Linked DNA regions of Homo sapiens: all the other regions are linked to region 1. Evidence: promoter capture Hi-C in 16 types of primary human blood cells and fetal thymus (Javierre and others, 2016). All regions are on one chromosome and are shown on one strand. The core of a region is centred on a gene start or on the middle of the fragment in contact, and the rest is flanking DNA. Distances in the headings are between cores, read along the strand shown.

Region 1 (4,022 bases), core at 403-2,902:
GCCTGTGCAGAACCTGCTGGGGAAACTGCGAGGAGAGACCCTTGGGTGCCGAGGGTCACGCAGCCCCCAGGCCCCAGCCCCCTTCTCCTACAGCCTGCTAGGCGGCATTGCTGCCCCAGGGTGATGCTTCTGCTCTCTCCTGTATTCGCGCTGGAGAAGTTTTCCCTGAAACCAGGTTCCATCCCCAGCCAATAACTCATTTCCTCAGAGATGGTGTCTGTATAAAACAAGCAAGATGGTCATTTGCAGAAACGCACAGCAAGGCAGCCCTAGACCGCTTCCCCTGCGGGTTCAAACCCCAACAGGCTCCAGAGGCTAAGAGGACGTGCCCGCTGGCTCAGCTCCCATGGCACGGGCTGGGTGCTCCGCTATTTCACTTCTCTCCCTCAGTTCCCCATCTGTGAAATGGGAATGCCCCTTCAGCTGCTCTGCCTCAGCCCCTATGGAAATGCCAGGAAGGGGAAAGGTCGGTCACCAAAACGCCAGGGACAGCATTATCTGAAAAGTGAAGCCAGAAAAGAGGGTGAGGGTGGGGTGGGGAGGGGGAGCCAGCGCCCACAAAGCACGAATTAAACACCCATGAAATCAAGCACGACGCCAAGAGGGCCGGCTGCCTTGAGAAAAGCCAGCGTGCGGCCACCTTTTCCCCGGCCTGGGAACTTTCCCCAGGAACAGGGCCCTCGGCCCGGAGTCCCGCGCCTCGCCCAGGGCCCCACTGCCCAGCGCCTGGCCCTGCCCTGTCGCCCCCGCCGCCCCTCGGGCCCCTGCAGGCCGGGTCGGAGGTCTGTCGGCAAAGGCTCAGCCAGGCCGCCCGGCTCTGCGTCCCCAGACCTCCGCAAACACGCCCCCTCCGGCCGCCTCCGGCTAGGAAGCCGGGCCCGTGCCCGCCAGATGTGCCCAGCGCCGGGAAGAGCCGGGCCAGGGACGGCCTGGAGCCCGCGCGGAGGCTTTCCCCGGGAGGCTCGGGCACCGCGGCACCCGGATCCCGCCTCTCTCCCCCGATCCTGGGCAGCCGGAAAAGGGATCGATCGCCGGCGTGCGAGGCCGGCCGGGGTCCCCGCAAGTCGCCTTCCGGGGATCCGGGGATCCGGACCCCCGCCCCCTTCCCCGGAACCCCCCGGGGGGGTACGCTCGGGCAGGTGCAGTCAATGCCAGTCCCGCCCCAGCCTCCTGCCCCCCGCCCGAGCCCACCCGGCGCTTACCTGGCCCAGGCGCAGCAGCAGCAGCAGCAGCGGCAGCGCCCAGCGCAGCCCGGGCGAGCGCGGAGGCAGCCGCGCCTCCCGCGCCGCCGGCTTCATGCCCCGCGCGCCCTGGAACGTGCCCCGGACGCGCGAATCGGGCCCCGCCGTGCGCCCGAGCCCGGGCACCGTCGTCGCCGCCTCCTGCCGTCTCCTTCGCCTCCTCCTCCGCCAGCCGGTCCGCCTCGTCCCCGCTCCGCCCGCCCCGGGCTTCCCCGGAGACATGGCAGCGGCGGCGGCGGCCGCGGCCACACGCCGGAGCCTAGCGCGGCTGCCGCGGGGGGGCCGCGTCCCTGAGCGCGCAGGGGCTTCGCGGGGCGGAGCGAGCGGCGCCCACCCCCAGCGCGCGGCTACCCGGTCCCGGCTCCCGCGGCTGCTCCCGCTGCCTCCTCCGCGCGTCATGCGGCTGGGGCTGCTGCAGGGAGCCGCGGCGAGCGCTCGGCCCCCTCCCTTCCCCTCCCCCTCTGAATATTCATCGCTTCCTCCCGCCCCGGCCGGCCCGGCGGCTGCGGAGCTCCGCAGCCCCTCGCCGCCGCCCGCCGCTGCCCCCGCCCCCTCCGAGCCGGCCGCGGATCCCCTCCCGCGGGCAGAGGAAGCGCTCCCGCCTCGCCCGCCCCTCCGCCCAGCCCTCCCACATTCCTGGGACTTGGAGCCCGGGACCAGGCTCCGTGGCTCTAGCGCCTCGAGCCGGCACCCCTCAGGACGGGCTCCCCAGCCTCACACCAGGTCCACGGCGCCGGGTTCGGGTGGGCAGAGGTTGACCGAGACCCCTACTGAGAGCGCAGCCAAGCCTGATTGTAGACAGCAACCCGGCGAAGGCGCGTTTGACCTGGCCCTGGGTGGGCTTGGGGGTGCGTGAACCCCGAAATTGTAGAAGGCACGCTGTACATTGTGTTCTGTCCCCCAGCCCCCGAGCGCCGGCCAGGGAGGCAGAGAGCCCAGTACAAGCCAGTCCAGGGATTAGAACCCCAGCTGTGGCATATGGTGGACGGGGCTCTGCTGGTAGTACCAGCCCTGTGAACTCTGGAGACGCATTTCTCCTCTCTGGCCGACCCCACCCACCCTCCTCTCCTCCCGTGTGAAATAAAGATCGTACTAGGACGTGTGGAGAGAGAGGTCCACTGCATTCGCGATTAAACGAGACAGTAGTTAGTAAAGTCCTAAACACCTAGCCTGACACATCGTGGGACTCCACATACATTAGCTCTTCTGGAAGCTTTCATCACGTTGTTAAAGAGGTCAATGAACTGACAGGAGTTAAAGATCACAGCAGATATTACTCCTGTGCCCATGCACAGAGGAAGACACTAGGATCAGGGAGGCTATGCCACTTGCCCAGGAGAAGCCGCAAGAGAAAGGGCCAAACCAGAGAGTGCTAAGGAGGAAGAGGTTAATTCCAACCAGGAGAGAGGTGACACCTGAGCTGGGCTTTGAAGGATGTGTTGAGTTTCACCAGGCCAGTAGAGGGGAGAAGTGTCTCAGGAGGTGGGGCCAACTTGGCAGAAACGAGGCAGCAGATGCTTCGAGCTTGGCCTTCGGAGAAACAGGAATGGGAGGCTGGGGGATTCATACTGGGGGAGACTTCAAAGGCCAGGATAATGAGTCTAGGCTGGATTCTGTGTGCAGCAAGATGCAGACCACGAGGTGTCCAACACTACCTCCAGACACCCGTTGGGCCTCAGGTTACCATCTACAAGATGGGAATACACATTCACTTACAGGGTCTAAGTGGTTCCCACCAGACAACACACCCAGACAAGCACTGAGGATAAAGAAACTTTGCCAGGCCGCACGATGGCTCACGCCTGTAATCCCAGCACTTCCGGAGGCCAAGGTGACTAGATCACTTAAGCTCAAGAGTTCGAAACCAGCCTGGGCAACGGGGTGAAACCCAGTTTCTACAAAAATTAGCCGGGTGTGGTGGCACACAGCTGTAGACTAAGCTACCTGGGAGGCCGATACAAGGATGGCTTGAACCTAGGCTGCAGTAAACCAAGATGGCAACACTGCACTCCAACCTGGGGAATAACGTGAAAACCTGTCTCAAAAAAAAAAAAAAAAAAAAGAAGAGGCTGGGCGTGGTGGCTCACACCACACCTGTAACCCCAGCACTTCAGGAGGCCGGGGCAGGCAGATCACTTGAGGTCAGGAGTGCGAGACCAGCTTGGCCAACATGGTGAAAACCCATCTCTACTAAAAATACAAAAGTTAGCTGGGCGTGATGGCGTGCCTGTAATCTCAGCTACTCCAGAGGCTGAGGGCAGGAGAATCGCTTGAACCCGGGAGACGGAGGTTGCAGTGAGCCAAGATTGCACCACTGCACTCCAGCCTGGGTGACAGAGTGAGACTCCATCTCAAAAAAAAGAAAAGAAAAAGAAAAAAGAAACCTTACCTATGGACTTACACACCTTGCCACCCTTCATTTAAACACTATGTAATTATCATAATTCACAAGGATTTTTGTTCCTCTGTGCCTCCTCCCCTCTTGAGGCAGAGACATAAAAGGTGTTCATGTCCATGATACCCAGAGGGAAGGAAAGCTTGATTTAAGATGCTACCAGGGGGCTGGGCACAGTGGCTCACGCCTATAATCCCAGCACTTTGGGAGGCTAAGGTGGGCGGATCACCTGAGGTCGGGAGTTCAAGACCACCTGACCAACATGGAAAAACCCTGTCTCTACTAAAAATACAAAATGAGCTGGGTGTAGTGGCGCATGCCTGTAATCCCAGCTACTCGGGAGGCTGAGGCAGGGGAATCGTTTGAACCCAGGAGGCAGAGGTTGC
Region 2 (4,022 bases), core at 1-2,500, 230 kb after region 1:
AATATCTTGCCACACAGGTACAGGGATTACAGCATTACCAGCCCAGGTAAGAATAAATTTAAAAGTGAAATTGCCTAGAAGGAAATTGAAGCCTTATCTTTTGCTGATAGTATTTGTCTTATATTTCTCTTGCTAAGTATATATTTTTTTAGTTCTGTGCCAGGTGCTGAAACTAGTTTTGTGGTAAATACAGACATATATTCTAAGGAGAAAACGATTTCTGTTTCCAGTAGTAAAAGTGGACCAGTCATAGCCAAGCGAGAAGTTAAAAAGGTCAGTGTCGAAACTTACCTCATTTGTTTATTTTCAGATCTAATAAGCGTTACTCTGAGCACAGGAGTGGAAGCCTTCTCTTAATATTTTATGTCATACATGTGAAATAGGATAAGTTTCATAACTTTCACTTTGTTTCTGTGTATTATGTAGCCTTTATAGCGGTTACTCACTTGACTTTTTCTTTTTTCTTTTTTCTTTTTTTTTTTTTTTTTTTTTTTTTTTTTGAGACAGAGTCTCGCCCCGTCACCCAGGCTGGAGTACAGTGGTGCGATCTCAGCTGACTGCAAGCTCCACCTCCCGGGTTCACACCATTCTCCTGCCTCAGCCTCCTGAGTCGCTGGGATTACAAGCACCCGCTACCACACCTGGCTTATTTTTTGTATTTTTAGTGGAGACGGTGTTTCACTGTGTTAGCCAGGATGGTCTCGATCTCCTGACCTCATGATCCGCCTGCCTTGGCCTCCCAGAGTGCTGGGATTACAAGCGTGAGCCACCACATCTGGCCTTTTTTTTTTTTTTTTTTTTTTTTTTGATATGGAGTCTCGCTCTGTTGCCCAGGCTGGAGCGCAGTGGTGCTGTCTCAGCTCACTGCAACCTCTGCCTCCCAGGCTCAAGAAGTGATTCTCCTGCCTCAGCCTTCTGAGTAGCTGGCATTACAGGCACCTGCCACCATGCCTGGCTAATTTTTGTATTTTTATTAGAGGCAGGGTTTCACCATGTTGGTCAGGCTGGTCTCAAACTCCTGACCTCAGGTGATCTACCTGCCTCAGCCTCCCAACGTGCTGAGATTACAGGCATGAGCCACTGCAGCTGGCCCACTTCACTTTTTCTTTGAGAGCTTTAGGGTATCACAGAGGCCTCTTGGATCATTGCAAAGGACGTGGGAGCAGCAGTCCAGACAGGGCTCCACTTCACATAGAATCATTCTATTATTTTTCGGATTCCATATATAAGACATTTTAAAAATATAAAGGTAACTACTTTAAAAACTACTGCAGGTTGAGTATTTCTTAATTGAAATGCCTGGGATCGGAGATAATTTAGATTTTGAATTTTTTTGAATTCTGAAATATTTGCGTTATACTTAGCAGTTGAGTATTCTTAATCTGAAAATGTGAAATCTGAGATGCTCCAGTGAGCATTTCCTTTGATCATCATGTCAGTGCTCAAACGGTTTCAGATTTTGGATTTTTCAATAACGGATACTATGTTAGTGAAACCTGAGCATTTCTATAGCCTAATTAGTAAGAAAAGTAAGTTGTATTCCTTAGGGAGTGTATATTGAATTCCAATTTATCTTCAATTTTAAAGACTTTTTTGCATCAAAATATATTTTAATTTTAATTTTTTTCTTTTTGAGACAGAGTCTTGCTTGGTTACCCAGGCTGGAAGGGAGTGGCGCGATTTCAGCTCATTGCATCCTCCGCCTCCCAGTTTCAAGCAATTCTGCCTCAACTTCCCGAGTAGCTTGGATTACAGGCACAACGCCTGACTAATTTTTCTATTTTTTTTTAGTAGAGACGAGGTTTCACCAGTTGGTCAAGCTGGTCTTGAACTCCTGACCTCAAGTGATCCACCTGCCTCAGACGCTGGGATTACAGGCACAAGCCACCGCACCTTTCCTTTTTATTTACTTATTTTTGAGACAGGATCTGACTCTGTCACCCAGGCTAGAGTACAGTGGCACGACCATGGCTCACTGCAGATTTACTCTCCTGAGCTCAAGCAGTCCTGCCTCAGACTGCTTAGTAGCTGGGACTACAGGTGTGCACCACCATGCCAGGTTTTGTTTGTTTGTTTGTTTGTTTGTTTGTTTTTTGAGAGACGTGGTCTCACCATGTTTGCCAGACAGGTCTCAAACTCTGAGCTCAAGTGATGCTTCTGCCTCGGCCTCCCAAATTGCTTACATTATAGGTGTGAGCTACTGCATGTAGCCCAAAAAAAATACTTTAAAATAATATAATTGAGCTTGGCGCAGTGGCTCACACCTGTAATCCCAGCACTTCGAGAGGTCAAGGCAGGCGGATCACTTGAGGTTAGGAGTTCAAGACCAGCCTGGCCAACATGGTAAAACCCCGTCTATTAAAAATACTAAAATAACTGGGTGTAGTGGCACATGCTTGTAGTCCCAGCTACTTGGGGGTCTGAGGCAGGAGAATCGCTTGAATCTGGGAGGCAGAGGTTGCAATGAGCTGAGACCGCACCACTGCACTCCAGCCTGGGTGACAGAGTGAGACTCCATCTCAAAAAAAAATTTAATAATAATAATAAAATAATAATTTAATCAGGGCAGGAAGATGGCTTGAGTGCAGGAGTTCTAAACCAGCCTGGAAAACATAACAAGATCAACCCCATCTCTACAAAAGAAAAATTACCCAGGCAAGGTAGCACACACCTGTAGTCCCAGCTACTCAGGAGGCAGAGGCAAGAGGATAGCTTGAGCCCAGGAGTTCAAAATTATCATTGTGCCAGTGTGTTCCAGCCTGGACAGAGTGAGACCATCCAGAAATAATAATAATAACTTAAATTTACAGTTACAGAAAGGAGGATAGGACAAGTGTTACCCCAATGGGAGAAGCAGATACTTTAATCACAAATTTCATTTCAGGAATAGTTCATTTTATTTTATTTTATTTTATTTTTATTTTTTATTTTTATTATTTTTTTTTTCTTTGAGACCTAGCCTAGCTCTGTCACCCAGGCTGGAGTGCAGTGGCGCGATCTCTGCTCACTGCAACCTCCACCCCCCGGGTTCAAGCGATTCTCCTGCCTCAGCCTCCCGAGTAGCTGGGAGTACAGGCGCCTGTCCCACGCCCGGCTAATTTTTGTAGTTTAGTAGAGACGGGGTTTCACCATATTGGCCAGGCTGATCTCGAACTCCTGACCATGTGATCCTCCCACCTTGGCCTCCCAAAGTGCTGGGATTACGGGCATGAGCCACCACGCCCAGCTATTTTATTTTTTTGAGACAGTCTCTCACACTGTCATCCGAGCTGGAGTACAGTGGCATGATCTCAGTTCACTGCAACCTCTGCCTCCCAGGTTCAAGCGATTCTTCTGCCTCAGCCTCCCGAATAGCTGGGATTACAGGCGCACGCCGCCATGCCGGGCTAATTTCTGTATTTTTAGCAGAGATGGGGTTTCACTATGTTGGCCAGGCTGGTCTCAAACTCCTGACCTTGTGATCCGCCTGCCTTGGCCTCCCAAAGTGCTGGAATTACAGGCATGAGCCACTGCGCCCGGCCTAGGAATAGTTCACTTTAGTCTAAATCACCTTCATGGCATACTTACTAAATTTTCTTATCAGGCCCAGCATGGTGGCTCACGCCTGTAATCCCAGCACTTTCGGAGGCTGAGGTGGGCAGATCACCTGAGGTCAGGAGTTCAAGATCAACTTGGCCAACCTGGTAAAACCCTGTCTCTACTAAAAATACAAAAATTGGGCCTGTTGCCAAGGTGGGCGGATCACCTGAGGTCAGGAGTTCGAGACCAGCCTGGCCAACGTGGTGAAACCCTGTGTCTACTAAAAGTACAAAAAAAATTAGCCAGGCTTGGTGGCTCTCGCCTATAATCCCAGCTGCTCAGGAGGCTGAGGCAGGGAAATTGCTTGAACCCGGGAGGCAGACGTTGCAGTGAGCCGACATCACACTTTGCACTCCAGCCTGGGCAAGAAGAGCGAGAGTTCGTCTCAAAAACAGAAACAAAAATGAGCTGGGTGTAGTGGTGCATCCCTGTAATCCCAGCTA
Region 3 (4,022 bases), core at 843-3,342, 200 kb before region 1:
AGTTTGGCCAAGGAAAGGGGGAAGCATACAAGAATTTGAGCAAAAAGAAGATACCTTGTAAGATACAATAAATCTTTCTGAGTTTCTCTTCAAAGGATTTAGCCTGTTAACTTCCTTATCCCTCGTTCGCAAACTCAACTTTCTTGTTCTTCCTTGCCCCTAGTTAGCATAAACAGCCTACCCCATGTCCGTTAGCTCTAATCAATAAATCTGTTCCCTTGGTGACCTCTACCCATTGTTCCCCCGAAACTGCACATCTCACACGTTCCACCTCTGTACCTCACGTCCCCCTCCCCTTCTATATTTAGGAAAATATGTACAAGTAGCCAACTGGGTCAGCTCAGATTTTGCAGTCTGACCCCAGCCCATGGGGGAGTGACACAGAGATAGGGACTGCATTAAGGATAAAAACTCCCTGGTCTCCTTTGTTCTCTGTGCTCTTGTGATTTTTACTGATGCAAGTGACACCCTTCTACAGAAGTAAATTGCCTTGCTGAGAGAATTAAACTTTTGCCTGAGTGCTGGTTTTACTTCGCTGCACCGAGCATTTATTCCTGGAGCATTTTATATCCAACAATCTCATGTGTAGAAATCATGTGTAAGTGGTTTATTATGGCTGGAGGGTGGATTCTGAGCAGAATGTAGTGGAGGCAGGCTGGTGGTTGGGACACAGCCATGTCCCATCCACAACCCCAGATACCCTCCTGCTTCAGCTGGTTACCATGAAGTGACTGAGATGACCCCCTCCCCATCAGAAGCAAATGCAAAGGGCAGATCCATCTTGTTCCCTGATGCCTTCTTTCCATCTCACTGCCCCCAGGACCAACAACATTACACCAGGAGGTAGAGCAGAGGGAGGCACAAAGTCATCAGTCACGCTCCAGGAAAGAGGCCTTCCCAGCAGCCAAGGCTGAGCCTTCTCCCCTGAGCTGCTCCCATGAGAGGGCTGACCCCTCAGGGGAGTTTGCTCCTCAAAAGGCCCTTCCTTGTGTTAAGCCAAACCTGTCTCCCTGTCACTGTCACAGGTCCTAGGCTGACCTGTGAGGCCACATGAGGCATGTGTCTGTCCCCTCTAGCCCATGGTGTCCTTCCAGACTTTCCAAGAAAGAGCCATGCCATCTCCCTCCCTCTAAAGGTTCTGGAAGTAATTAAGCCTCCAGGCTAGGTGGAGTGGATAGGACCAGTGGATTTGTTGAAAGGGCCTTCACGGATTCTTCCCATCTAGGGAGTCTATGGCCCATGTCAGGGAACATGAAATGCCTCAGAAGGACCCTCACACTGCCAAGGCTGCAGCATCAGGGCCTATGAGTCTGGATCAGGTTGTCCAAGACACAACCATGACCCCTGAGCATGCAATTTTGACATAACAAAATTGGTCTCCTGATATGACACCTGGTCTCACACCCAAGACTGCAGCTGTGGAAACACAGGACAGAATTCCTTAGATCCTGGATGTGTGGCCCTCACTAAGTGGGAGACTCGAACCGGTGCTCCCAACTCCATATAAAGGCTCCCAGAAGTTTTGAGTTTGTGATATTGTTTGGATGTTTGTCCCCTCCAAACCTCACGTTGAAATGTAATTCCTCCTGGGCATGGTGGCTCACACCTGTAATCACAAACTTTGAGAGGCCAAGATGGGCAGATGACTTGAGGTCGGGAGTTTGAGGCCAGCCTGGCCAACACGGTGAAACCCCATCTCTACTAAAAATACAAAAATTAGCTGGGCATGGTAGTGGGAGCCTGTAATCCCAGCTACTCAGGAGGCTGAGGCAAGAGAATCACTTGAACCCAGGAGGCGGAGGTTGTGATGAGCCGAGATCGCGCCACAGCACTCCAGGCTGGGCAAAAGAGGGAGACTCCGCCTCAAAGAAAAAAAAAAAGGAAGAAATATAATTCCCAGTGTTGGAGATGGGGCCTGGTGGGAAGTGCTCCAATCATAGGGACGAATCCCTTGTGAATGGCTCACAGCCATCCCCTTGGTGAAGTGCGAGTTTTCCCTCCGAGTTCACGCAAGATCTGGTTGTTTAATAGCATGTGACACGTCCCCCCATCTGTCACCCTCTCTTTCTTGCTCCTGCCCTTGCCATGTGACATGCTGGCTCCCGGTCACCCTCCTCCGTGATTGTAGCTTCCTGAGGCCCTCACTAGAAGCAGATGCCAGCACCACACTTCCTGTATAGCCTGCAGAGCCATGAGCCAAACTAAAACCTCTTTTCTTTATCAATTAAACAGTCTCAGGTGGTGTTTCTTTACAGCAATCCAAGAAAGGCCTAGCACAGTTTGCTTCTTTTTCATTTGCCTATTCAAGTTACAAAAGGAGGGGGGCGGGGTGTTCATTATTATAATGTTCATTGTGGATGAAGCTGTAAAGAAACAGGCATTCTCACACACTATAATGAGAGTGTAAATTGCTATCTAGAGAAAAATTTAGCAGAATTTCATCTAAGCGTTACCTTTTTTTCTTTTTTGAGATAGGATCTCACTCTGTCACCCAAGTTAGAGTGCAGTGACACAATCTTGGCACAACCTGCCTCCCAGGCTCAAGTGATCCCCCCCACTTCAGCCTCCCAAGCAACTGGGACAACATGCATGTGCCACCACACTCGGCTAATTTTTTGTATTTTTTGGTAGAGATGACGTTTTGCCTTGTTGCCCAGGCTGGTCTCAAACTCCTGAGCTCAGGCAATCCACCTGCCTTGGCCTCCCAAAGTGCTGGAATTACAGGCATCAGCCACCACGACCAGCCTAAAGCCCTACCTTTTTATATATTTCGATTCATTAATTTTATAGAAAAGTTTACTAAGAAATTAATTGTGATGTCTGCAAAGATCTGGCTACTGTGATAGATGCCACATCCTTATTCACAGGAGAGTAAAATCAGAAATAATCTAATGGCAATCAATAAAAGAGTAGTTAACTCGAGAGTGGTATGTGTCCATACTATGGAGTATTATGCAGCTCTTAAAATGGTGAACAGGATGAATACCTAATAACACAGAAAGAGTTCACAATATGTCAAGTATAAAAAGCAAGTTTCAGCCAGGCACGGTGGCTCAGGCCTGTAATCCCAACACTTTGGGAGGCTGAGGTGGGCGGATCACCTGAGGTCAAGAGTTCAAGACCAGCATGGCCAACACAGTGAAACGCTGTCTTTGCTAAAAATACAAAAAAATTAGCCAGGCATGGTGGCACATGCCTATAGTCCCAGGTACTTGGGAGGCTGAGACAGAAGAATTGCTTGAACCCGGAAGGCAGAGGTTGCAGTGAGCCAAGATCATACCATCGCACTCCAGCCTGGGTGACAAGAGCGAAACTCTGTCTCAAAAAAAAAAAAAGCAAGTTTCATTAGCCAGGTGTGGTGGCACGCACCTGTAGTCCCAGCTACTCAGGAGGCTGAGGTGAGAGGATCACTTGAGTCCAGGAGTCTGAGGCTACGGTGAGCCATTACAGTGCCACTGCACTGCAGCCTGCATGACAGAGTGAGACCTCGTCTCTAAAAATAAAAATTTTTAATTTTAAAAAAGAAGCAAGTTTCAAAAAATTGAGCACAGAACCAACTTAAAAGGTTAGCAGCCAGGATAGTGGTTAGCTTTGCCAGGGTGTGGCTGAAAGGGGGCACCAAGGTGGCTTATGGCATGCTGGTCGTATATACTTTTTAATTTGGGTGCTGGTTATATGGGTGTGTTCATTTTTGGACAATTATTCAAACAGCCAACCTATGATTAGTGCATTTTTCTGTCTGTATTACGCTTCAGTAGAAATATTACTCAAAGAAATATGTTAATCTTAAAAAGAAATATGAACATGTTTGATTCCAGTTTTGCAAAAAGATGAAAGCAAATACATGAAGATGAAGATGTATGCATGTGTGCACATATGGGGGGTGTGTGTGTGTGGTGTTTGTGAGAATTCTAAAGGTTACAGAATTATTTACAGTAAAATGTTAACAGTGGTATTTCCTATGTGGTGGGATATATTAGCCCATATTAGTTATCTCTTGCTGTGTAACAAATTATCCCAAA
Region 4 (4,022 bases), core at 686-3,185, 190 kb after region 1:
TTGGTTTCATTTGTGTATACCTTGGCTACACGAAATAATCTTTTTCCATTTTCACAGGAAGTTCATCAGCAGAGGAAATGGTCACTCTCTTGGTTCAGGCGGGCCTCTTTGACACTGCCATATCACTCTGTCAGACTTTTAAGCTTCCCTTAACGCCAGTCTTTGAAGGGCTTGCCTTCAAGTATGTATAAAATTATTTTTTTATAGTCTTTTCTAATGCAAATATATTATCCTCTTGCTCAGTGTGAAACAGTCGTCATAAGCCAAGTAGCCCATATATCATTTATGATTTGAAGAAGTGTTTTGTTTAATCCATCCAAGCATTCTTAAAAAGAATTTCAGGCTGAGCGCAGTGGCTCACGCCTGTAATCCCAGCACTTTGGGAGGCCGAGGCGGGCGGATCACGAGGCCAGGAGATCAAGACCATCCTGGCTAACAAGGTGAAACCCCGTCTCTACTAAAAATAATACAAAAAAAATTAGTCGGGCGTGGTGGCGGGCGCCTGTAGTCCCAGCTACTCGGGAGGCTGAGGCAGGAGAATGGCGTGAACCTGGGAGGCAGAGCTTGCAATGAGCCGAGATCGCGCCACTGCACTCCAGCCTGGGCGACAGAGCGAGACTCTGTCTCAAAAAAAAGAAGAAGAATTTCTTGGCCAGGCACAGTGGCTCACATCTGTAATCCTACTAATACTTTGGGAGGCTGTGGCGGGTGGATCGCTTGGGACCAGCCTGGCCAACATGGTGAAACCCTGTCTCTACTAAAAATACAAAAATGAGGGTGTGGCACACAACAGTAATTTCAGCCTCTCAGGAGGCTTAGGCACAAGAATCTCTTGAACTTGGGAGGCAGAGGTTGCAGTGAGCTGAGATCGCGCCTCTGCACTCGAGCCTGGGCAACAAAGCAAGACTCTGTTTCAAAAAAAAAAAAAAAAAAAGTTTGTGAATTAGAAATAATTTTGAACTTTCAGAATTTTTCAGCCAGGTGCAGTGGCTTACGCCTGTAATGCCATCACGTTGGGAGGCCAAGGTGGGCAGATCACTTGAGGTCAGGAGTTCAAGACCTGCCCGGCCAACATGACGAAACCCCATCTCTACTAAAAATACAAAAGTTAGCCAGGAGAGGTGGCGTGTGCCTGTAATCCCAGCTACTTGGGTGGCTAAGGCAGGAGAATCGCTTGAGCCTGGGAGACGGAGGTTACAATGAGTTGAGATTGCGCCACTGCACTCCAGCCTGGGCAACAGAGCGAGACTCCATCTTAATTTAAAAAAAAAAAGAGGCCAGGTGCGGTGGCTCATACCTGTTATCCCAGGACTTTGGGAGACCTAGGCGGGCGGATCATGAGGTCAGGAGATCAAGACCATCCTGGCTAACACAGTGAAACCCCGTCTCTACTAAATATACAAAAAATTAGCCAGGCATGGTGGCATGGGCCTGTAGTCCCAGCTACTCAGGAGGCTGAGACAGGAGAATCACTTGAACCTGGGAGGCAGAGGTTGCAGTGAGCTGAGATTGCACCACTGCACTGCAGCCTGGGTGACAGAGCAAGACTCCATCTCAAAAAAAAAGAAAAGAAAAAAGAATTTTTCATCATTAATTTTATCTTGGAAGTAAATTGTCTCTTAATGCTTACTCATGTTCTTGTAGGTATCCAGTTGTGTAACTTGAGGAAGAGATGAGCCAATATTCCAGTAGTGAATTCAGCAAAAGACTAGAGATGAAGTTGTCATCTATCTCTCTAGTTTTAGTATCAAATTAAAGTGGTACGTTTCAGCGTTCAGTTTTCAAGTGTGGAACCATTTTCATTCCAGATGCATCAAATTGCAATTTGGAGGAGAGGCAGCACAAGCAGAAGCCTGGGCCTGGCTAGCAGCCAATCAGCTCTCATCTGTCATCACTACTAAGGAGTCTAGGTACAACCCTGGTGTTCAACCCTGGGTAGTTTTGCCTTTCTAAAAGCTGTAACTGTCTTTCTCTGACTAAATTGTCCTACATAGATCATTTCACTTTTTTCTTTCTTTTTGGCTAAGTTTTTATAGGGGCTGGAAAGTTTATAATTAAGGTGACATCATGTCATTTATTGTCCAAACTAGGATGTCTTTGCCTATGAAATGTCTCCTTCTCCATATCCCCCTCCTCAAAGACTTACTGTTTCATATCAGGAAAGGGTACTCTTACAGGCAAAAATCTGTATTTACTTGTTTCGGAGTGTTATCCTCCTTTTTTCCCCCATTTCTTCCACTGAGCAGTCACTGCATGGTTTCATCACAGTGTCCTCTTATATCTTGTCTCCAGCTGCTGTTCAGCAGTCTGTCACCCATCAGCCCCCATCATCCACTATACCTTCTTCAGATCTCCTCTGGTTCGTATACTTCCCCAGTGCACCCACTTTGTGTCCACGTAAATATACTTCAGCTTCTTCAGAAACCTTCTCTAACATTCCTAACCCTCAGTAAACTTCCCTTTCTGAACTGCATTTGCACTTGGTATTATACAGCTTAGCACTTTAGAGTGATAGCACTTTAGAATTTGGAAGTTCTCTGACATTAGTTTTCAACCCCTAAATTAGCACATCAGAATAACTTATTAAAATACAGATTATGAGAAATCACCCTAGTCTTCTAAGTTAGAACTTCTGCATGATTCTAATGCTTGATCAGGTTTGAGAACCAGTGTTCTGAACCAGTTTCTTGTTTTAGAAATGCAGAAACAAAGGAGTTAAATGAATTATGCATTAATAGCCAAACAAATAACGTTCATTTACTAAATATGTTTGTTTACTAAATACTAAATACGTTAGTGGGAGAGGAATATACGAACCCAAGACATCTAGTTTCTAGTGCTATCCCCATAAGTCACATTAGCCCAAATAATATTTGTTCCCATTTAGCTATATTATTGATTCAGTTGTTAATTTCTAAAGTTTTCCTTGTAAGGCTGGGCATGGTGACTCCTGCCTGTAATCCCAACACTTAGGGAGGACAAGGTCAGAGGATCACTTTAGCTCTGGAGTTTAATACCAGCGTGGACAACATAGCAAGTCCTTGTCTCTACAAAACATAAACAAAATTAGCTGGGCATAGTGGTGCATGCCTGTATTCCCAGCTATTTAGGAAGCTGAAATGGGAGAATCTGGGGCTGAGGCTGCAGTGAGCTGAGATCACACCACTCCACTCTAGCCTGGGTGACAGAGCAAGACCCTGTCTGAAAAAAAAGTTTTCCTTGTAAATACATGCTTTGAATGGTACTCTAAATAGCTATTAAGAATCTGAAACTCATTAGTCATTTTTGTTTTTTTCAAGTGCTACAGATGAAGCATGGCGACTATTATCCACTTACCTGGAGAGGTACAAAGTCCAGAATAACTTGTATCACCACTGTGTAATCAACAAGCTCTTGTCTCATGGAGTGCCTCTGCCTAATTGGCTTATAAACAGTTACAAGGTAAACGGATTATAACTTGTACAGAGTAAGAACCCACTCTTTATCATTCTGGATAACTTCATGAGATGATTAAAAATATGGACTGATTGCAGTGGCTCATACCTGTCATGCCCGCACATTGGTAGGCCAACAGGGGAGGATGGCTTGAGCCCAGGAGTTTGAGACCAGCTTGGGCAACACAGGGAGACCCCATCTCTATTTAAATTTAAAAATATATAAAGAAAAAGAAAAAGATGGGGTGATAACTTATGGGAACATATTGACTTACGTACTTTGGGAAGCTTTTCATCATAGCTAAAACCATAAGAACAATTCAAATTCATTTCCACAGTACTACTGTGTATTTAGATTTGAAGTTTCATAGGTTAGTAATTAGGTTAATGACTCCTATTATATTCACTGAACAATGAGTTTATATTTAGAACAATGAGCATATGCATGACACAGGATTTACTCTTCATACCTCAAAAAAGTCACAGGAGTCGGTGGAGTACTTTTCAAATAATATAACACTATGGCTGGTCTGAGTGCCGTGTTGTTTACAACTAATTGAGCACAACCAGTTTCCGATTGGTTCCTTC
Region 5 (4,022 bases), core at 784-3,283, 170 kb before region 1:
CTGCAGCACCCGATTAAAGCTTTCTTCCCCGGCAATATTTGTCATCTCAGTGATTGGCTTTCTGTAAAGGTGAGGAGCAGGACCTAGACCAAACCCGTGGTGTTTTGGTAGCAAAAGAACAAAGTGGAAATGTAGAGGTGATATGGGTTAAACTGTGCCCCAAAAAGATATGTTGGATTTCTCGCCCCCAATACCTATGAGTGGGATCTTATTTAGAAATAGGCTCTTTACAAGCCTGCACTGCCAAGACAATCCTAAGCCAAAAGAACAAAGCTGGAAGCATCATGCTAGCTGACGTCAAACTATACTACAAGGCTACAGTAACCAAAAGAGCATGGCACTGGTACCAAAACAGAGATATAGACCAATGGAACAGAACAGAGCCCTCAGAAATAATACCACACATCTACAACCATCTGATCTTTGACAAACCTGACAAAAACAAGCAATGGGGAAAGGATTCCCAATTTAATAAATGGTGCTGGGAAAACTGGCTAGCCATATGTAGAAAGCTGAAACTGACAAAAATTAATTCAAGATGGATTAAAGACTTAAATGTCAGACCTAAAACCATAAAAACCCTAGAAGAAAACCTAGGCAATACTATTCAGGACATAGGCATGGGCAAGGACTTTACGTCTAAAACACCAAAAGCAATGGCAACAAAAGACAAAATTGACAAATTGGATCTAATTAAACTAAAGAGCTTCTGCACAGCAAAAGAAACTACCATCAGAGTGAACAGGCAACCTACAGAATGGGAGAAAATTTTTGCAATCTACCCATCTGACAAAGGGCTAATATCCAGAAACTACAAAGAACTTAAACAAATTTACAAGAAAAAATCAAACAACCCCATCAAAAAGTGGGCGAAGGATATGAACAGACACTTCTCAAAAGAAGACATTTATGCAGCCAAAAGACACATGAAAAAATGCTCATCATCGCTGGCCATCAGAGAAATGCAAATCAAAACCACAATGAGATAGCATCTCACACCAGTTAGAATGGCAATCATTAAAAAGTCAGGAAACAACAGGTGCTGGAGAGGATGTGGAGAAATAGCAACACTTTTACACTGTTGTTGGGACTGTAAACTAGTTCAACCATTGTGGAAGACAATGTGGTGATTCCTCAAGGATATGAAACTAGAAATACCATTTGACCCAGCCATCCCATTACTGGGTATATACCCAAAGGATTATAAATCATGCTGCTATAAAGACACATGCACATGTATGTTTATTGCAGCACTATTCACAATAGCAAAGACTTGGAACCAACCGAAATGCCCATCAATGATAGACTGGACTAAGAAAAATGTGGCACACATTCACCATGGAATACTATGCAGCCATAAAAGGATGAGTTCAGGTCCTTTGTAGGGACATGGATGAAGCTGGAAACCATCATTCTCAGCAAACGATCGCAAGGACAGAAAACCAAACACCGCATGTTCTTACTCATAGGTGGGAATTGAACAATGAGAACACTTGGACACAGGGAGGGGAACATCACACACCGGGGCCTGTCATGGGGTGGGGGGAGGGATAGCATTAGGAGATATACCTAATGTAAATGATGAGTTAATGGGTGCAGCACACCAACATGGCACATGTACACATATGTAACAAACCTGCATGTTGTGCTCATGTATCCTAGAACTTAAAGTATAAAAAAAAAAGGCTCTTTACAAATGTAAACAAATTAAAATGAGATCATACTAGATTAGAGTGGGCCCTGAATCCCATATGACTAGTGTCCTTATAGGAGGAAAAGAGACAAAGAGACATAGACACATGAGGGGAGATGGCCATGTGAACACAGAGGCAGACATCAGAGTGTTGCTGCCACAAAACCAAGGGACGCCTGGGGCTCCCAGAAGCTGCGGAGGCAAGGAAGGGCGCTGCCCAGAGGTTTAGAAGGGAGTGTGACCCTGCCCACACCTTAATTTGGGACTTGTGGCCTCTAGACAGTAAATTTCTGTTGTTTTCAGCCTCCCAGTTTGTGGTGCTTTTTTATGGCAGCCTAGAGAACTAATACAAAGGTTAGAATATAGGAAAAAGGATAACCCTTGCCTTCAAGCAGTTGCAACCTGGAGGAGAGGTGTACTGTACACAGAAAAAACTAACATTACAAAAAGGCAGAATTAAAGAAATGCTGAATATTGGTAACAAGCAACAGGGGAAACAAGGCAGTCTGAGCACACAGAACTCAAGTCCTCCTAATGGGATCCCAGAATGCCCATGGAGGAAGCAGCATGTGCACTGTGCTGAGTGCTGAGCAGGATTTCAAGAGAGCAAAGGCAGAGATGCTGGACAGGGCAGCACAGGAGGACGAGTGTGCATGGTCACTCTGAGCAGGGCTGGTTCCTGGGCTGGTTGGAGCACAGCATGGGGAACTGAAAGGCAGACACTGGCCAAGAAATTCCTTGTGCAGGGCTTCAGAAGTGAGCCTCACAAGCCATCCTAGGCCACACTGCCATCAAGCCCCAGACCTCTACATGCCCATTTGGTTTCTTTCCAGCTCATATAGCTTCCTAAGTATTGTGGCTAACAGTTCCCTGACTTGAATTCCTAGTTTCTGTTAACAGTTTTCTAACTTTCAGGAAAAACAAGCCAATTTCTAAGGAAAGTGGCTGTGCTTCAGTCAGGAGTAGTCCAAGGTAGACATCCAGGACAGTATGACGCAAAGGGTTTGGAGCGCAACAACCCCTTGCGTTATATAGCCATTTAATGTAACCTGTTTGTGTGAGTTCATACCTGGCTTTGAGCCACTATTGTCTGTGAGTAATATAACTGCACTGCTGACTCTGTAGGAGAGAGAATAAAGCCATGTCCCAACTGCCTACAGTCCCTCGAGTGTTCTTTCAGCTACCTGCCACCCATCCACCAACTCCCCTCAGATCCCAGCTTGGGTTGGAACCTGACACAATTAAAAACAGTATTTACAGCAACATACTTCGTATTCCTCTGCGAACCCACAGTTGGAGTCAGCTTGCTGCTTCTTGAAGTAGGCCTCAAAATTCTCCACTCTGATTAACTTAGATCTAAGAAAACAAAACTTATCAGGATTTTTTACATTCAGTGAAGTCCATATTCAATAGAAAAGTACAAGTTATTAAAAAAAATAAAGAGATTACTCACTTTTTAGGTCTTCATGATAGAAAGGGAAAGAAAAAATATGCAATTAGAAAGACTCATTCATACTCTAGAAATGACAGTAAACAATCTTCCCAAAACAACAAAACCCAGGGTATAATTTGGCAAGAGGGGGTCAGAGTACTATTATTCACAAAACACTAAAATATGATTCAGGAAATCTGATTTCTAGACCCTACTTTGTAACTAATTGGTTTTGTGACTTTAAGTAAGTTCTTCTCTCCCCTGGATCTTGATAACCTATTTGACGTTTTTTTAATCAAGAAATCCGTATTTATTGGTAGAAGAGTAGAACATGACAAGGAAGCCAGCTTCAGGAGACTAATAAAACATAGATTCCTTGCAGAAAACAGAGCTAGCAAAAACTTCCAGATGGTCATGGTCAAAATGTGCCAATCAGGAAAAATGACAGCAAGTTCCATCAAAAATTATTTATAGATAGTCACCGAACAGATTGGAGGATTTAAAATAAAGCTCATAATTTGAGAGACTTACTTAATTTGAGAAAAGGACACTTCATTATTCTTTGCATCTTTCCTGTTTTAAGAGAAAAGAGACCCATTAGACAAAAAAGGATTCCTTCCTGTGCTTTTCCCTTGTGTATCTGGAGTTGATGTCATCTATGAAATAAAGGTGTTACACCTTTTCCTCAGGCATTAGTTCACAGCTGACACCAAATCCTGCCCCCTAATACTAAACTTAATGACCCAAGCTGCAAATGCTAATTACAAATTTGTGAAGTTATTTTCTTTTGTACTATCTAAAAGAATGAAAAAAATCATATCCAAGTCACTTTTAAGAACTTCCTTGCAAATATATAGCAGTGGCATTACTTTAATGTAAAGCAAGACTTGTTATTTC
Region 6 (4,022 bases), core at 794-3,293, 150 kb before region 1:
TTTTTATTATACTTTAAGTTCTAGGGTACATGTGCACAACGTGCAGGTTTGTTACATATGTATACATGTGCCATGTTGGTGTGCTGCACCCATTAACTCATCATTTACATTAGGTATATCTTTATTCTACCCTCTGTATAAAAGATTTCAACTATCTTGAATCTTAGATCAAGGAAGACTGTATGTTTTTCAACCTTTCCAAAAAACAATTATTTCAAAATTTTAAAACAACAATAATGAACATTACTCTCTAGGATTTCCCAGAAGTTTCTCCTGTAGGCCTAGAAATAATTTAATAATTTAAACTGTTTCTATAAAAAAAAATTTTTTTTTGAGACAGGGTCTCCCAGGCTGGTGCTAGTCTGCAACTGTTGGGCCAAGCAATCCTCCTGCCGCAGCCTCTCAAGTAGCTGGGACGATGGGTGCAGGCCACCGTAGCTGACTATAAAATGATTTTATCAATTTCAATTAGCCTTCTAGAACTAACAAAGTATCTCATCACAGTGTTGTTTAGGAAAGACTGTGAACAGTCCACCTGCCCAACACAGCACAGTAGTTAATTTCTAACACATCTTGACCAGAGGTTCTTAAACTTTTTGCTCTCAGGACTTCTTTACCATCTTAAAAGTTATTAAGGCTCTCAGAGAATTTGTATTTACATAGGTTATATTTATTAATATTTACTATATCAGGGATTTAAAATGAAGAAATTTTTAAAATGTAAGAATCCACAGCATATATTCCATTAGACCTGAGAGACAATGTCATCCCATATCGGATCAAAGTTGGAAAACTCCAAAAGAGAATGAGAATGAAAAAGCCAAATAACATTTTAGTATTGTTATGATAATACTACCTTGGAGACCCCTTGAAAGAACCTAGGGATCCCTAGAGAGCCCTGGACCACAATTTGAAAACCACTGATCTAGCCCAGAGGTCAGCAAACATTCTCTGTAATGGCCAGAAAATAAATATCTCAGGCTTCACAAGCCACACGTTCTCTGCTGCCACTACTCAATTCTAGCACCAAAGTAGCCATAGACAGTACATAAGCAAATGAACATGGCTGTGATCCAATAAAACTTTATTTACAAAAACAGACAATGAGCCAAATTTGGCATAGGGGCCATTCTTATCTGCCAACTCTGTTTCAGATGATGGAATTCCAGGCAGGTGTTCAAATCATCCTGTAGAAATATTTTATTAAGAGGAAAGAATATTCATAATTAATTGGCAAGTTGGGGAAAAGGCAGATTACAAAACCACATGTACAGATGGCCTCAATGTTTGTGAAAGAAATAAATATATATTTGTGGGCTGGGTGCAGTGGCGCACACCTGTAATCCAAGCACTTTGGGAGGCTGAGGTGGGCAGATCATTTGAGATCAGGAGATCAAGACCAGCCTGGCCAATATGGCGAAACCCTGTCTCTACTAAAACTATAAAAATTAGCCAGGCATGGTGGTGCACACCTGTAATTCCAATTACTCAGGAGGCTGAGGCACAAGAATCGCTTCACTTGAACCCAGGAGATGGAGGTTGCAGTGAGCCAAGATCATGCCACTGCACTCCAGCCTGGGTGACAGGGTAAGACTGTCTCAAAAAAAAAAAAAAAAAAAAAAAAAAATATATATATATATATATATGTGTGTGTGTGTGTGTGTGTATTAAATATTAAATATATATGTATTAAATATATGTATACTCACACATATATTTGTGTATCTATATGTATATGTTTAAAAATTGTAAAATGTCATACATCAAAAGTGATTATCTCTGCTTGATGGTTTCCATGTAAGTTTTTTCTACTTACTTGTCTGTATTTCATATAATAAATAAGCATTAGTGTTATGAAAATTTTTAAAGTTTTTTCTTAGATAATTAAAAGAAAAACAATATTTGGAAACATTATGTTTATTAATTATACTGATTTCCTTTAAGAAACATGATGGTTTAACAGAAAAGCCTATTTGCTTACCAGTTCTATTGCAAACTGTCCGAGATGCCCCTTCAGTCCCATTTGGTCCTTTTGGAACTATTTCAAAGCAATACTTGGTTCCAGGGAACAAGCCACCAATGATAATACTTTGGTTGGTGGTTATTTCTACCCGAGAATTGCCAGCTCCCTCCTGTGTGATATGCATCTGAAATGATTCTGCATCATGGCTGCTCCATGCTAAGCCGATCTCCGTCGTGCTGACCACTGTCACTCGGAAGTCAGAAACTGGAACAGGGGCTATGCAAAGAAAGTAAACAACTAGATTAAAAATATACTTCTCCAGGAGACAGGGATGCCCCACCTCAGAAAATACTGAGATGAAATGTACACTTAGGACACCTGATCCCTCTCTCTGTCTTCTTTGTATCATCACCTACAACATGAGCCCCTCAGAAACTGCTGTTTCTGGCCATGGAGAGAGCACTTGATCATGAGAGTGCAGAAGCTCTGTGCTTACATTGCACACAATCATTCACAGGAAATGAGAGGAGGCGTGAGCTCCTGTGGTCAAGGGCTCAGGCTCTGGAGGAGAACCTTGGCCACACTGGCTGCTTTATCTCGAATGCATTACTAGCCTCCCAGAGCCTCTGTTCAGGGAGGGACAGCAGAGAGAGACCAGTCTTGACCCCCAAAATCCATTCCCCCATTTTCCCTTCATCATACCCACCCAGATTTTTAGCCCTGTGTGTGCATACCTGTTGGAAACAAAGACCACATTTCCCAGCTCCCATGGAGCTAGATGTTGCAATGTGACTAAGTTTTGCTCAACGAAGCATGAGCAGAGGTACTGGGTGACTTCTAGGAAGTGTCCTTTAAGGGTGGGGCACAACCTTCTGCCCTTCCTCCTTCTTATACCTGTAGTGTGGATGCAATGACTGGAGCTCACGCTGCCTGGCTCTAGAACCAAAACCTCAGCGGTGGCTGCAGCTTCCTGATCCCAGGATCACAGCTCAGAACATAGACCCCTGGATCCCGCAACTACAGCAGAGACTTCCTGATTCCTCCCTCTGCTGTCTGTGACCAAGGTGGTGACTCTCCAGGGGGTCAGTTCTGCAGACTTAGTCCAGGAGTCATTTCTTGGGGCGAGGCCTAAAGCCTGCTCCTCAACTGTTATGAGCTGACTTGTGCTCCCTCACCCCCAAATGTGTATGTTTATGTCCTAACCCCCAAGACCTCAGAATGTGGCTGTCTTTGGAGACAGGGTCTTCAAAGAGGTAATTAAGTTAATGTGAGGTCATGAAGGTAGGCCCTAATCCAGCAAGACTGGTGTCCTTATAAAGGGAGATGAGGGCATAGGCACACGCAGACTAAGGACAACCATGTGAGGGAGAAGACAGTCATCTATAAGCCAAGAGGGAGGCCTCAGAAGAAACCACACCTGCCGTTGCCTTAATCTTTGACCTTCAGCCTCCAGAACTATGAGAAAGTCTATTTCTGTTCAAGCCACACAGCCTTTGGTACTTGTTCTGGTAGCCCTAGCAAACTAATACACCAGCTCTTCCAATGATTCTGCAAAACCTCAATTCCCAGGATAAATCCCTTTTGGTTAAAATAGCTCACAGTTTCTGTTTCATACAACTGAGCCTTGGATAACCTCTATCATCCCCATCCTGCCTAGCACTGGGCTTCTGTTACAGGAGAGAGAAATAAACCCCTGTCTTGTTTAAGCCACGGATACTTGGGTTTTGTTGTTGTTGTTTTTGGTGGTGTTATTCGTGGCTGAACCTAATCCTAACTAATAAATAGTAAAAGAGTAAAAGGTAAAGAAATGCAAGCATATTTCATTTTCCCAAAGATCCAGTCCAAAATACATCTATAAGAATGCTAAGGTGTGCTTCCTGCGAAGGAATGGACATTCTTGTGGGATAAGCCTGGGTCCAGAGCCACACACCCCTGAGTTCAAGTCCTGCTCTGCTACTCACTAGCTCTGTGGCTTTGGGCAAACTGTTCAGCCATCAGGGTGTCATTTCCTCATCTGTAAAAGGGGACCCCAATACCTACCTCGGAGGCCACTACAGTG
Region 7 (4,022 bases), core at 739-3,238, 150 kb after region 1:
GTCTGATCTTATGTTTCAGACTGAAGAGATGTTTTTCATGTTAGCCCCTCCCTCCCTCTTTTTATTTTCCCCCGAAACAGAGTCTCGCTCTGTCACTCAGGCTGGAATGCAATGGCGCAGTCTCACCTCACTGCAACCTCCGCCTCCCAGGTTCAAGTGATTCTCCTGCCTCAGCTTCCCAAGTAGCTGGGATAACAGGCATGCACCACTGCACCTGGCTAATTTTTGTATTTTTTAGTAGAGATGGGGTTTCACTATGTTGGCCAGGCTGGTCTCGAACTCCTGACCTCAGGTTATCCACCCACCTCGGCCTCCCAGAGTGCTGGGATTACAGACGTGAGCCACTGCGCCCGGCCTGTGTTAGCCCTTTTGAAACAAAAACCTGTAAGGTCTTTTAGCAGATAAACTAGATAGAGCAGTAGATACAATGAAAGGTCCATCCTTTCAAAAGGTATGTTCTTCTAGCCTGAATATCCCTTGAATATCACCTATTAACTATTTTCTTGGACAGGAGCAAATGTGCCTAATGGTAGCTGACATGCTGGAGTATGTCCCTGTGAAGAAAGACCTTCGGCTTACTGCTGGAACTGGACACAAATTACGGCTTGCTTATTCCCCCACCATGGGACTCTACCTGGGGATATACATGCATGCACCAAAACGAGGACAGGTATGAAACAAATAAGACACATACCAAGTTATTCTGTGTGTACTGATGTGGAGAAATGGCTGTAGACTCAGTGAGTCTGTTCAAGCTCTTTTCACCGACCTAGATGTGTTTCTGAGGTGATGGTTGGGTTTCGTGCTACTATGTGAATTAGAAGATCTTGAAGGAGGGGTCAGTATGAAAGGAAGTAGAGAGTTTAAAGTAACATGAAAGGAAAAGTTAACAGAAACTAAACAAGAAGAGCAAATTAGGAGTTCTAGGTGAAAAAACAGAATTCCTGAAAGGGATGTAGGTGTTATGTGGTGTTAAGTTAATTTTTCTAAATAAATTTGCTTAGCATCCAGACAGTAGCTGCTGTCTGTAGATGAGATACGTAGGATGTGATGTAATAGTGTAATCATTTAATAAACAGCCATTTGTTGAGCATTGTGTGTTTGGTGCTGTGCCAGTCCCTTTATGCACATTAATAATAGCAGACACTGGGATTGTGCTTACTCTGGGCTCATATGCTATATGCGTTTTATCCATTTAATCCTAATAACAGCCCAGTGAGGTAGGGTCTGTCTCCCTTACTATGCAGGAGCTCTGATTCCCCCACTGAGTCCCCACGCTAGGCCACTGCCCTTCCTGGATGCCCTTCTCACTTCTGTTGGGATCTCATAGCCCACTCCACATTGCTCCTCCAATGTGGGTGCCCTCCTTACCCTGTTTGGGCCCTGAGACCACCAGACTGCCCCCATGCAATGGACCTCCTCCTCACCCAACCTGAGTTTCCATCCTGCACCAAGCTTTCTGTCCATGTGGAAGCCATCTCAAACTGTTCGTGCTCCTCCCCCCGAAGTCAGGCAGTCCCAAATGTGGACAGTCTTCTTATGTCCCTAGGCTCTTGCCTCATCACACCTGGCCATATCACCCCTGCATGCACGCCCTTCTCACTCACTAGTGTTCTCACTCCTGTGCTGGGACATGCCTGCACCGATGTTCTCTTCAACCTGTTCAGACTGACTCCTTATGCCGAACCCCAACCCCCCAGGTCCCCGACCCTTACCTTCTGGCCAGCAAGGATATCTACCTTGCTCTAGGTTTTTAGATTGGATTGCTCAGGAACAGAATGGAAGGGAAGAGGAAGAGCTCATTCTTGCAGTTTTTTCCTAATATGGCCCAAAAGTATCATGCTATCAAGACATTTATCTTGATTGCACATAATTGTTCTATTCTCTCTTCTGGAGGACAACCCTTGAACTATTTGAACATACCTATCCATCTCCTCTAAGTATACTCTTCTCTGCATGTAGGTTGTGGGTGGTAGGAGAATTGACCCTGCTCTAACTTCCTTAGTTCCTTCCATTGTTATTCATGTAACATCCTGTTGATCAGTCTCCTCGACATGTTACAATTAGTTTGTCACACTAAAATAGTGGTTCTCAAACTTTTGGTCTCGGGACCCTATTATACTCTTACCGAGAACTGCAAAGAGCTTTTGTTTATATGGGTTATACCTATAATTTATTAGAAATTAAAACTGGCTGGATGTGGATTGACACATTTTATATTATGCAGTATCTAAATTACTGTTTTGGGGGGTAATCCCCAAGACCACCTCACCTCCATGTCCAGTAATACTCTGAAAGGACTCATAGGGCTCAGTATGTAGTTGTGCTGACAGCTAAAATGTATTACAGTGAAAAGATACAAAGCAAAGTGAAAAAAGGGAAAAGGCACATGGAGTGAAGTCTGAAGCCAGACACAATCGTCTAAGAGTCCCCTCCCAGTAGAGTCTCACAGGACATGCTTAATTCTTCCAGCACTGAATTGTGATGATGTGTGTAAAATGTTGTTTCCCAGGAAAGCTTGCTAGAGGCACAGTGCCCACCATATTGGCCAGGCTGGTCTCGAACTCCTGACCTTGTGATCTGCCCACTTCGGCCTCCCAGAGTACAAGCAAGACTTTCTAAGGAGAGCAGCCTCAGGCCTGCTATGTTAACCCTTTCTGCACAACTATTATCATTGATGATATTATCATTGGTGATCACTCAGAAGAGCCTTGAGAAGCTCTGGAGTTCATGTTAGTGGATACGAAGTTTTCTGAAATCATAGTTTTCACTTTAAAACTTGAAATGTATCATTGGCAACAAATACTGTCATTTGTTTTCCCTGAAATGACAGGTTCACTTTATTCTTTTTTTTTTTTCTTTTGTGATGGAGTTTGGCACTCTTGTCACCCAGGCTGGAGTGCAGTAGCGTGACCTCAACTGACTGCAACCTCTGCCTCCTGGGTTCAAGCAATTCTCCTTCATCAGCCTCCACAGTGGCTGGGATTACAGGTACCTGCCACCATACCCGGCTAATTTTTTGTATTTTTAATAGAGATGGGGTTTCACCATGTGGGCCAGTCTGGTCTCGAACTCCTGACCTCAGGTGATCCACCCGCCTCAGCCTCCCAAAGTGCTGGGATTACAGGTGTGAGCCACCACGCCCAGCCTATTCATTTATTTAAACAGCTTTCTTGAGATGTAATTCACTCACCCATTTAAAGTATACCATTCAATGAGTTTTAGTATATCCACAGATACGAGCAACCATTACCATAGTCAACTTTAGAACATTTCCATCACCTCAAAAAGAAACCCCATACCTTTTAGCTATCATTCTTCCCTTCCCCCATTTCTTCCCAGCTCTACACAACTGCTAATCTATTTTCTGTCTCTATAAAGTTACTTATTCTGGTCATATTATGTCAGTGGAATCATATAAGTGGTTTTCTGTGACTGGCTTCTTTCACTTAGCTTAATATTTTCAAGGTTCATCCATGTAGCATGTGTTGTCAGCACTTCATTCTGTAAGTGCCCAATACATACAGCTGATTTATCAAGACAGGAATTGGAATAGAGAGAGTTTAATACACATAGAGCCAGCTAAACAGGAGACCGGAGTTTTACTGTTAACTCAAATCAGATCAGCCCCCCTGAAAATTTAGAGGCTAGGGTTTTTCAAAGATAGTTTGCCAGGCAGGGCGAGGCTATGAGTGCTGCTGACTGGTTGGAGATGCAATTGTAGGAGTGTGGAAAACCATCCTATGCGCTGAGTCTGCTTCTGGGTCGGGGCCACAGAAGAGTTGCTCATCTGGCTGGGGCCAGAAATGTAAAAAACTGAAAACACATTTTAAAAGGCCAGTGTAAGGTGCTACAATGGTGATGTTATTTACAGAAGTAATTGGGGAAGTTGCAAATCTTATGACCTCCGGAATAATGACTGGTAATCATTTAACTATGAATTCGGGCCCCTCTCATCTTCCTAACCTGGTGGCCTTTCATTAGTTTTACCAAGGTGGTTTGGTTTTGGGGAAGGGCTATTA

The links. The method cuts DNA at HindIII sites, captures the fragments that hold promoters and counts their contacts. A CHiCAGO score of 5 or more calls a contact.
Region 2: a fragment that was not itself captured here is called in contact with the fragment with the promoter of PTPRJ in region 1 in 2 of 17 cell types (activated CD4 T cells and total B cells); the score reaches 5.4 in activated CD4 T cells.
Region 3: a contact is called between a fragment that was not itself captured here and the fragment with the promoter of PTPRJ in region 1, in 1 of 17 cell types (neutrophils). The highest score is 5.1, in neutrophils.
Region 4: a contact is called between a fragment that was not itself captured here and the fragment with the promoter of PTPRJ in region 1, in 4 of 17 cell types (total B cells, naive B cells, total CD8 T cells and 1 more). The highest score is 7.0, in total B cells.
Region 5: a contact is called between a fragment that was not itself captured here and the fragment with the promoter of PTPRJ in region 1, in 4 of 17 cell types (M1 macrophages, neutrophils, M2 macrophages and 1 more). The highest score is 12.2, in M1 macrophages.
Region 6: a fragment that was not itself captured here is called in contact with the fragment with the promoter of PTPRJ in region 1 in 12 of 17 cell types (M1 macrophages, M2 macrophages, megakaryocytes and 9 more); the score reaches 12.1 in M1 macrophages.
Region 7: a contact is called between a fragment that was not itself captured here and the fragment with the promoter of PTPRJ in region 1, in 1 of 17 cell types (naive B cells). The highest score is 5.2, in naive B cells.

What each region holds. Positions count from the first base shown.
Region 1 is chr11:47,978,189-47,982,210 of GRCh38, reverse strand. PTPRJ (protein tyrosine phosphatase receptor type J) reads right to left here and starts at 1,652. Exons shown (of 25, transcript NM_002843.4): 1 at 1,203-1,652. The coding sequence starts at 1,298. RefSeq lists silencers at 622-1,051, 1,152-1,741. The HindIII fragment of the contact is 2,862 bases long and covers 1-2,456 here.
Region 2 is chr11:47,747,167-47,751,188 of GRCh38, reverse strand. It overlaps FNBP4 (formin binding protein 4), which reads left to right. Exons shown (of 17, transcript NM_015308.5): 5 at 1-46; 6 at 153-273. Among named protein-coding and RNA genes, the nearest start is that of FNBP4, 18 kb to the left of the region's middle. The HindIII fragment of the contact is 7,780 bases long and covers 1-4,022 here.
Region 3 is chr11:48,173,717-48,177,738 of GRCh38, reverse strand. No RefSeq gene overlaps it. Among named protein-coding and RNA genes, the nearest start is that of OR4B1, 41 kb to the left of the region's middle. RefSeq lists a silencer at 674-846. The HindIII fragment of the contact is 5,624 bases long and covers 1-4,022 here.
Region 4 is chr11:47,784,341-47,788,362 of GRCh38, reverse strand. NUP160 (nucleoporin 160) reads left to right here. Exons shown (of 36, transcript NM_015231.3): 31 at 58-181; 32 at 1,809-1,910; 33 at 3,300-3,441. Among named protein-coding and RNA genes, the nearest start is that of FNBP4, 19 kb to the right of the region's middle. The HindIII fragment of the contact is 3,579 bases long and covers 146-3,724 here.
Region 5 is chr11:48,149,123-48,153,144 of GRCh38, reverse strand. PTPRJ (protein tyrosine phosphatase receptor type J) reads right to left here. Exons shown (of 25, transcript NM_002843.4): 16 at 3,657-3,698; 17 at 3,147-3,155; 18 at 2,962-3,049. Among named protein-coding and RNA genes, the nearest start is that of MIR3161, 54 kb to the right of the region's middle. The HindIII fragment of the contact is 4,023 bases long and covers 22-4,022 here.
Region 6 is chr11:48,128,676-48,132,697 of GRCh38, reverse strand. It overlaps PTPRJ (protein tyrosine phosphatase receptor type J), which reads right to left. Exons shown (of 25, transcript NM_002843.4): 8 at 1,982-2,239. Among named protein-coding and RNA genes, the nearest start is that of MIR3161, 34 kb to the right of the region's middle. The HindIII fragment of the contact is 4,254 bases long and covers 1-4,022 here.
Region 7 is chr11:47,832,299-47,836,320 of GRCh38, reverse strand. NUP160 (nucleoporin 160) reads left to right here. Exons shown (of 36, transcript NM_015231.3): 7 at 512-670. Among named protein-coding and RNA genes, the nearest start is that of NUP160, 14 kb to the left of the region's middle. The HindIII fragment of the contact is 1,062 bases long and covers 1,458-2,519 here.